Linked DNA regions of Homo sapiens: region 2 is linked to region 1. Evidence: promoter capture Hi-C in human tissues and cell types (Jung and others, 2019). All regions are on one chromosome and are shown on one strand. The core of a region is centred on a gene start or on the middle of the fragment in contact, and the rest is flanking DNA. Distances in the headings are between cores, read along the strand shown. Region 1 overlaps TMPRSS9 (transmembrane serine protease 9). Region 2 holds the start of OAZ1 (ornithine decarboxylase antizyme 1).

Region 1 (4,753 bases), core at 483-2,982:
CTGAGGTCAGGAGTTCGAGACCAGCCTGGCCAACATGGCGAAACCCCAACTCTACTAAAAATACAAAAATTAGCCAAGCATGGTGATGGGCACCTGTAATCCCAGCTATTCAGGAGGCTGAGGCAGGAGAATCACTTGAACCGGGAGGTGGAGGTTGCAGTGAGCCGAGATCACACCACTGCACTCCAGCCTGGGCGACAAGAGTGAAACTCCGTCTCAGAAAAAAAAAAAAAAAAAAATAGGAATGCAACTAACAGTTTTTGGAAACAGAGATATAGTCCTACAAGTTTTCTTTTTTCTTTTTCGAGATGGAGTTGTGCTCTTGTTGCCCGGGCTGGAGTGCAGTGGCACCATGTCACCGTATCAGCTCACTGCAACCTCCGCTTCCTGGGTTCAAGCGATTCTCCTGCCTCAGCCTCCCAAGTAGCTGGGATTACAGGTGCCCTCCACCATGCCCAGCTAATTTTTAGTATAGATGGGGTTTTGCCATGTTGGCCAGGCTGGTCTTGAACTCCTGACCTCAAGCGATCTGCCCACCTCTGCCTCCCAAAGTGTGCGATGACAGGCACGAGCCACCGCACCCTGCCAGTCCTACAAGTTGTCTGGGTACAAACTATTTGAAAATACAATAGAAAGTATTCCAGACCGGGCATGGTGGCTCACACCTGTCATCCCAGCATTTTGGGAGGCTGAGGTGGGCAGATGATGAAGTCAGGAGTTCGAGGCCAGCCTGACCAACATGGGGAAACCCCGTCTCTACTAAAAATACAAAAATTAGCCGGGTGTGGTGGCCTGTGCCTGTAATCCCGGCTGTTCAGGAGGCTGAGGCAGGAGAATCACTTGAACCTGGGAGGCGGAGGTTGCAGTGAGCCGAGATCACGCCACTGCACTCCAGCCTGGGCGACGGAGCAAGACTGCGTCTCAAAAAAAAAAAAAAGTATCCCATTGATAGATCGCCATAGTTAACAAGACATGGGCAAGACCTGTGGACAGAAAGATACCATGAGGGTACACGCAACGTAAGATGGGAATAAACGGATACACATGTGACCTTTCCTTGAACAGGAAGATCCAAAATTATGAAGATACTATGACGATATCCGTTCTCCCTAAATCAAGATAGGCACGTACATCATCTTCTACCTTTCTGCCCCGAAAATACCTTGTAGCTTAGGAACGGTGACCCAGTCAAGAGGCACGGTACTGAGGGCCTGCATCGATTTGGTGGGGGTGCTGACCACAGGGCTCTCAGGACTGGTGGGCCAGGCTGTGCTGGGGGCGGCAGGGGCAGGAGCCATGGTGGGGGCCAGAGGCATGCTGGCTTTGGTGGTGGCCTCCAGGATCCAGTCACGTAGCCTGGTGACTCGGGCATAGACCCCTGGACGCCGGGCTTCCGCACACCCGATTCCCCAGCTCACGATGCCAGCCAGAAAGAACCGGCCAGAGGGCTCCTCGCAGACCAGGGGTCCTCCTGAGTCACCCTAGGAAACCAACACACACCCTCAGGATGGGTCGGCAGCAGCCAGTCCAGACACCAGTGCTACGAGGCCCAAGAAGGAGCTCTGAGCTGGGACAGCCAGGACCTCTCTCCACACAAGCTCACAGAGCACCTGGGGCTGATCATTGACATCTCAGAACCTGTTTCCTCTTCTGTGGAGGAAAAAAAACAAAACCCAAGACAGTTGGACTATAGGATCTCTAAGATGTCTTTCAGTCCTACCTCTGGCAGGCCAAAACGTGACCCAAATAAATAACATCCCCTCCTCTTCTTAACTCAGTAGATCTTTGATAATGTCACCACTTGCTTAGGCTGGCAGTATGGCTGCCACGCGGGTGCCTCCATATATCTCACTGGTAGCTGCAGCATTGCTCCCAAAGTGCTCATCTGCTGTCACTCGTCCGGCCTCACCATTTTTTACCTTCCCATATCCAGTTCACCCTGACCCTTACGTTCTGTGTATCGTTTTTTTGTTTGTTTTTGTTTTTGAGATAGAGTTTTGCTCTGTTGCCCAGGCTGGAGTGCAATGGCGTGATCTCGGCTCACTGCAACCTCCTCCTCCCAGGTTCAAGCAATTCTCCTGCCTCAGCCTCCCAAGTAGCTGTGATTATAGGCACGCATCACCACGCCCGGCTAATTTCTTGTATTTTTAGTAGAGACGGGGTTTCACCATGTTGGCCAGGCTGGTCTTGAACTCCTGACCTTAAGTGATCTGCCCACCTCAGCCTCCCAAAGTGCTGGGATGACAGGCGTGAGCCACCGTGCCTGGCCGACTCTTACATTCTTAAACATGAGCCCTCTCATTAGTTCCTAGCATTTTCTCCAGATTCTGGTTTCAATATGGCAATCTAAGCACATGTAGCAGTCTCTCCCATCTTTTCCTCACCCACCAGGCCTTAGAAACAAGAGCAAAGGTATGCACAAGAAAGACAGGAATCCACAGCCATGCTAAAAAAATTAGGCAGGAGAGATCCCTGGTTGTGGACCAGAAACCATGAAGACTCACGAGAGGCTGACAGAGGAAGTGGCAGCCCAGCCCATGTGCAGAAGCTCAAGACACAAGAGAAAGCTTTCTCAAGAGGACCTGGGTTGGTTGGGGTAGAAAAGGGATTTGGGCAACCACAAAGGATAAATGAGACCAGGAGGTCTTTGGTCCCTTGAAAGGGTACATAGAATCCAAGAACACAAACTGTTAATGTCCCTCGCCAAGAGAAAGTGAATAGCAAATATAAGATCACGGCAAGAATTGAGCGACATTTTTAAATTTTCAATTTTGTTTGAGACGGCGTCTCACTCTGTCACTCAGGCTAGAGTACAGTGGCGTGATCTTGGCTTACTGCAACCTCCACCTCCTGGGCTCAAATAATCCTCCCACCTCAGCCTCTCAAGTAGCTGGGACTACAGGCATGCACCACCAAACCCAGCTAATTTTTGTTTTTGTTTTTGTTTTTGTAGAGACAAAAGTTTTGCTATGTTGCCCTAACTGGTCTCAAACTCCTGGCCTCAAGCGACCTGGCTGCCTCAGCCTCCCAAAGTACTGGGATTACAGGTGTGAGCCACTGCACCCAGCTTTTCATTCTTAAGCACCAGTTGAGGGATTCCAATCTCCATGAAATAAAGACACTCAGTTACAACAGAATAACTTACGTTTGCCTGAAATACAGTTAACCACAAATATAGAATATAGAAGAAACATAACGGATTAAATTACGATCCTCAGAGAAAAAGAAAGAAATGGTATCCACGAAACAAGAACAGGACACTGCAAACAAGACCAGGTGGCTGAAAGAAGAAAGAATGAGACACCTTGAAAACAAAAATTATAATTGTCGGCCGGGCCTGGTGGCTCACACCTGTAATCCTAGCACTTTGGGAGGACAAGGTGGGCAGATCACCTGAAGCCAGGATTTCGAGACCAGCCTGGCCAACATGGCGAAACCCTGTCTTTACTAAAAGTATAAAAATTATCCAGGCGTGGTGGTGGGCACCTGTTATTCCAGCTACTCGGGAGGCTGAGGCATGAGAACCACTTGAAACTGGGAGGTGAGCCAAGATGGTGCCACTGCACTCCAGCCTGGGTGACAGAGCGAGACAGTGTCTTAATTAAAAATACAAAAATTAGCTAGGTGTGGTGGCGCATGCCTATAATCACAGCTACTCTGGAGGCTGAGGCAGGAGACTCGCTTGAACCTGGGAGGCGGAGGTTGCAGTGAGCTGAGATCACACCACTGCACTCCAGCCTGGGTGACAGAGTGAGACTCCATCTCAAAAAAAAAAAAAAAGAAGAAGAAGAAAAAGAAGGTTCCAGGTATACAGCAGAAGCAGCTTTGGATGACCCCTGATTTTCTCTTTTTTTTTTTTTTTTTTTTTTTTTTTTTTTTTTGAGACAGAGTCTTGCTTTGTCGCCCAGGCTGGAGTGCAATGGCGTGATCTCAGCTCACTGCAACCTCCAGCTCCCAGGTTCAGATGATTCTCCTGCCTCAGCCACCCGAGGAGCTGGGATTACAGGCACCTGCCACCACGCCAGGCTAATTTTTGTATTTTTAGTAGAGACAAGGTTTCGCCATGTTGCTCAGGCTGGTCTCAAACTCCTGACCTCAAGTGATCCACCCGCCTTGGCCTCGCATAGTGCTGGGATTACAGGCGTGAGCCACCGTGCCCAGCCCTGGAACCTTCTTGAGTTGAGCCTGCAGCTCACTCATGGCCCAGCTGACCACCCAGGGGCAAAAGTCCACGGGGTTCCCATAGACCAACCCTTCCCATACAGACGGAGAGAATCTGATGCCCAGGGTATGTGCTGGCATCATTCATACAAGAGGTGTTTCTTGGGTGCCACGTTGTATCAGGCCCAGTGCTGGGAACAGTGTCTGTGTCCCCACACAAGTCCCGGTTTGGAGGGCAGCTGGGGGGGATTTACACAGGGACCCCATCATAGCCAGGGAGATTACTCAGGGACCCCAGGCTCTGTGGCACGCACCTGGGGCCCACTGGAAGGGAGCAGGGAGCCATGGAGGGCAGAGGAGGGATTGAAGTCAGGTTAGAGCTTCTGGAAGATCCTCTAAGCAGCACCTGCCTCTCAATCCCAACTGCTTTAAAATTCCTCAAGAACGGGCATCCAGATATCTGTGAATCGCCCAGCATTTGAACACGCTCGTGTCTGTGTTTTTCTGGGGTCTGGGGCGTTGGGGGCTCACAGCGGGCATCCAGATATCTGTGAATTGCTCAGCATTTGAACATGCTCGTGTCTATTTCTGT
Region 2 (4,753 bases), core at 925-3,424, 140 kb after region 1:
ACTGTGCGCCGGCTCTGATGAAACTCAGGGTTCCCACGATTACATTCAATCACAGGTACGGGCAGCAAGGTGCACAAGAAAGTACCTGTGGCCCCAGAGCAGCCCCAGCAGGCCCGGCCCCATACTCACGGAGTAGAATAAGTTAGCTGAAAGATTGTGATCCCTCTGACTATTCCCTCGCCCACCTGGGATCTTCAGGGGTGGGTGAGGGGCATCAGGAGCACCACCGAGGCCCCGGACCCGGGTTACTACAGCAGTGGAGGGAGACCCTGGAACTGAAGATGATGCAGGTCACGAGGCAGCGCCAGGCTCCGGGCGGAGACCCCTCCAGGGCGTCCGGGCGGCCTTCAGCACATCCCCACCCCTGCCTCGGCCAAAAGACCCCGCCCCGCCCAGGCAGGGGCCCACCCGGTCCCACACCCCCGAGGCTTCCCGAAGGCAGCTCCAACGCCTGCCCCAAGCACCTACAAGGGCAGCAGTCACTGAGCCCCGACTCCTCGGGCGGCGCCGCCCAGGACAGCCCAACCTTCCCAGGGCGGGGGGCCCCTTCCCCTCACGCAGCCCCGCCGGGGCAGAGCCTCACCCCCCGGCCACCAAGACAGCCAGCGCTTCCCCTTTTCAGTTCTGTCGCGGCTTCCCCTTTCCACCCTGCACTACGGCCAAAATCTGGGACTCTTGCTTGTCCCCGCGAAGACCGGGCGGGCCTAGCCTGACCTCATGGAGGACGCGCCCCGCTCCGGCTCCCGGCCGCCCGCCCCCCCGCCCCCGCTCCAGGCCCGGGCCCTCCCGGTTGCGTCATCCAGGCAGACGCGGCCTCGCGCCCCGGGGGAGATTTTCACAATCGCGCAGCCGGCAGCGCCAGCAGCCATTTGCTGCGCAGGGTAAACAGGCCCCAAAGTTGCCTCCATTTTGCACGGCCCCCAAACCGCGGCACCGCCAGCACCGCGGCCCAACCTCCCGATCCGGGGCTGAGCGACGCCCACCTCGGGGGACGCAGTCGGGAAAGCTCGACCGAGACCCCGCGGGCTCCCCCACAACCGCAGCTGGCACCCGCGCCCCCGGAAGCGGGACGCGTCTTCCCGGGAAGCGGCGGGGGTCTTCCCAGGGCGCTGCCGGGCTGTCGGAGTGCGCCACCCCCAGCTCCCCGGCGGCCCCCGCGGAGAAGCCCTGGGTGCCGTCTACGTGCGCGGCCTCGCCCGGCGCGTCCCGGGCCATCCAGACCGACTCGCTCAGGGGCGAAAAACGGGGCCCACGAGGTCCGTCGCGTGCAGGGGCCACATCGAGGCAACAGGGACCCGCGGGAGCTCGTCCACCGCAAAGCGCTCCCCGCTCCCGCAGCGCACGCTCGACGGCCGGGACCGAAAAGTGCAGATTCACCAGCCCCGCGGGCCCTGCCTGTCCGCGGACCAGCCCCCCAAGGCCGACCCCGCCCCCAACCAGATTGCCCCATCCTGCGCCTCCCAAATCCGACCCGACCGCACACCCTTCCTCCAAACCGAATTCCCAGTCTGCGCCCCGCAAATCCAACCCTCGACCAGAAGCCTCTCCCCTCCTCCGAAGCCGAGTCCCATCCCGCGAACCCCGCAAAAGACACACGCCTCCCCCGACTCCCCGTCCTGCGCCCAAATCCGACCTCCGACCCATGCCCCTCCCGCAAATCAGGCGCCCCGGACGGTGCCCCCCAAATCCAACTCCGCACCCTTGCCCCCCAAACCCGACTCCCCCGAGAGCACTGCTAAGGCCGGGGGGGACCTCCAGGCCCGCCCTGCGCCTACCTCGTCCCCGGCGCGATTCTGGCCTTGACAAAGGGGCGGATCTCGCGCGCCGGGGACCTATCTGGCGCCCCGAGGACGGCCCCCCGCAGGCCTGCGCGGCCGGCGCTTCTGGAAGCTTCGGACGGGGGCGGGGCACTTACCTCTCACTGCTGCTGCCGCCGCGGCTGTGCAGGCTTAGGAGCGGCATGGTGCGGCTGGCGTGGATGGTGGCGCTGGGTTTATCCCCTTCCTTCTCTCTGGCGAAGCAGTGGCTATTGAGGATCCGCTGCAGGGAGGATTTCACCATCCGGCCGCTGGGGTCCGAAACCAGGAAAACCTCCGCTGCGTCTCTCCGCGCCGCCGCCGCTGCTCGCCGTTCGCAAAATGGCGCCTCTGCCGCCGCCCGCCTTTATAGATGCTGCGCCCAGGCCACGCCCCCCGCGCCGCCGGGAACGCGACCGCACGAGGGGCAGAGCCGCGGGGCCGCCGGGAAAAAAAGTCGCGCCCGCCCCTCCCAGCGCCTGATTGGTGAAAGGGAAAGGGAAAGGAAGAGGCTCTCTGGAGATTGGTTGGTGAGCCTCGGGCCACGCCCCCTCCTGCGCGCGTCCTTCTGGGGGCGGGGCTGCCGTGGCGCCGGGTACGCGCTGCGCGCGCCCCGAGCCGTCCCCGCCCCCACAATCGTGCCTTGGGGGCGGGGGCGGCTCGCTGGGGCCGATTTTCGGGGGTCTTCGAGTGCCCGTTTGTCTGTCGTGGTCCACGTCGCCCTCCCTAGGGTCCCTTCACGCAGCGGGACCCCTCCCCTGGGTAGGCCCCCGGGTGCTTGGGGGGTTGTCCAACCGCGCCAGAATTATTTCCAGTAACACCTGGTAATCATCGATGATATTACTGGTTTTATTTTTTTAAATTTGGTCTTGCAGTTCTTAAAATGCTTCCAGTGTTTAAAAAAAAAGAACTTCCAATGTTAAAGATATTCAAATTTAGTAAAATATTTCGTGTACAATTTGGACTTAAGCAAAAATTTTACTCCTTGCAGATAAATTCAGATTTTTCCTGTGGAAACTGAAACTTACCCTAAGGAAAAACACTACTCCTGGCAGTTAAAATTCAGAAACACATCTCATGTATGAACTAAAATGTGGATCTCCCAAGGAAAAAACGATTTCTTTGGTGGTCAAGTTCGGTAAACTGTTTCGCCTGTGAGGTAAAATGTGGACTTACCTAGCAAAAATATTTCCCCTCCTGGTTAAATCCAGAAAAAAAATCTCAGGTATGAACTGCACTTTGCTTTTAATAAGCAAAGATATAACTCTTGGCAGTCACATACGGGTACATAGCTTGTGTGTAGACTAAATTATGAATTTAGCAAAAAGTTGCCACTTTGCAGTGAGGTTTAATAAAATATTTTTTATTTCATGTATAAACAAAATTTTGTTCTTACCAAGCAAAAATGCTACTCCTGGCAAATCCTGATTCCTTTCATGGTTTTAATTTTGTTTTGTTTGCGACCGGGCCTGGCTGTCACCCAGGCTGGAGTGCAGTGGCGCAATCTCGGCTCGCTGCAACCTCCGCCTCCCAGGTTCAAGCGATTCTCCTGCTTCAGCCTCCTGAGGAGCTGGGATTACAGGTGCCCGCCACCACGCCCGGCTAATTTTTGTATTTTTAGTAGAGATGGGGTTTCACCATGTTGGCAAGGCTGGTCTGGAACTCCTGACCTCAGGTGATCCGCCTGCCTCGACCTCCCAAAGTTTGGGGATTAACAGGCGTGAGCCACCGCGCCTGCCTGTCTTTCGAGATTTCGTACTGCACCAGAAGGCTGTTGTTGCATCTCTGCTACGAGCATTCGCTATTCAGGTGTTGAGGCAGAAATTAACTCCTGCGGTTGACATTTGGGGCCGCCCTGGGCACTGCAGGGCGCTGAGCAGCGTCCCTGGCCTCCACCCACTCCATGCCTTGAGCACCCCCAGTTGTGACAACCACAAGTATCCGCAGACATCACCCAGTGTCCCTTGGCGGGGGCAGAATCACCCTGGGTGAGACTCCCGAGTTAGGGGATTCCACGGACCCCCCCAAGAGACTCTGCATCCCATGATCCTCTGCCCTGCTGAGGTCCCAGGAGACTGCGCACGTTGAAATCCACACCTTGAGGCAGAGGTTGCAGTGAGCTGAGATGGCGCCGCTGCACTCCAGCCTGGTGACAGAGCGAGACTCTGTCACAAAAAAAACAAAAAAAAAGCAATCCACACCCTGAGTGGGGAAGGAGAGAGGAGAAGCATCCCAGGAGCTGGGGGCCTCCTGGTTTATACCGTTTGCCCCATTAGGAGTTTATCCTGAGGCTGGGCACGGTGGCTCACGCCTGTAATCCCAGCACTTTGGGAGGCCGAGGCGGGTGGATCACGAGGTCAGGAGTGCAAGACCAGTCTGGCCAACATGGTGAAACCCCGTCTCTACTAAAAATACAAAAATTAGCTGGGCATGGTGGCGCGTGCCTGTAATCCCAGCTACTCAGGGGGCTGAGGCAGGAGAATTGCTTGAACTGGCACCCGGGAGGTGGAGGTTGCAGTGAGCCAAGATTGCACCACTACACTCCAGCCTGGGCTACAGAGCGAGACTCCATCTCAAAAAAAAGGAGTTTATTCTGGTGTCTGGTGTGAGCAGAGAACAGACTCTGTTTCAAATAATTAACTCAGGGTCTCCTCCCTCGGACCCGTGGACATTGGGCTTGGATTGTTCTCTGGGGTGGGGCATCCTGGGCAAATGGTATGAACCAGGAGGGCCCCAGCTCCTGGGATGCTTCTCCTCTCTCCTTCCCCACTCAGGGTGTGGATTGCTTTTTTTTTTGTTTTTTTGTTTTTTGAGACGGAGTCTCGCTCTGTTGCCAGGCTGGACTGCAGCGTCCTGGGCACTGCAGGGTACTGAGCAGCGTCCCTGGCCTCCACCCACTCCATGCCAGGAGCACTCCAAGTCATGACAACCAGAAATGTCCCAAACATCATCCAATG

The links. The method cuts DNA at HindIII sites, captures the fragments that hold promoters and counts their contacts. A contact is called where the count stands out against the background at its distance.
Region 2: the fragment with the promoter of OAZ1 here is called in contact with a fragment that was not itself captured in region 1 in 1 of the 25 tissues and cell types used here (lymphoblastoid cells).

The regions. Positions count from the first base shown.
Region 1 is chr19:2,410,428-2,415,180 of GRCh38, reverse strand. It overlaps TMPRSS9 (transmembrane serine protease 9), which reads right to left. Exons shown (of 19, transcript NM_001395513.1): 11 at 1,163-1,481. Among named protein-coding and RNA genes, the nearest start is that of TIMM13, 15 kb to the left of the region's middle. The HindIII fragment of the contact is 6,937 bases long and covers 1-4,753 here.
Region 2 is chr19:2,266,907-2,271,659 of GRCh38, reverse strand. OAZ1 (ornithine decarboxylase antizyme 1) reads right to left here and starts at 2,174. Exons shown (of 5, transcript NM_004152.3): 1 at 1,916-2,174; 2 at 130-275. The coding sequence starts at 2,061. LOC105372240 (a long non-coding RNA gene) reads left to right here and starts at 2,407. Exons shown (of 2, transcript XR_936242.3): 1 at 2,407-2,558; 2 at 2,788-3,167. RefSeq lists silencers at 333-672, 683-882, 1,093-1,152, 2,118-2,607 and an enhancer at 1,861-2,475. The HindIII fragment of the contact is 6,913 bases long and covers 922-4,753 here.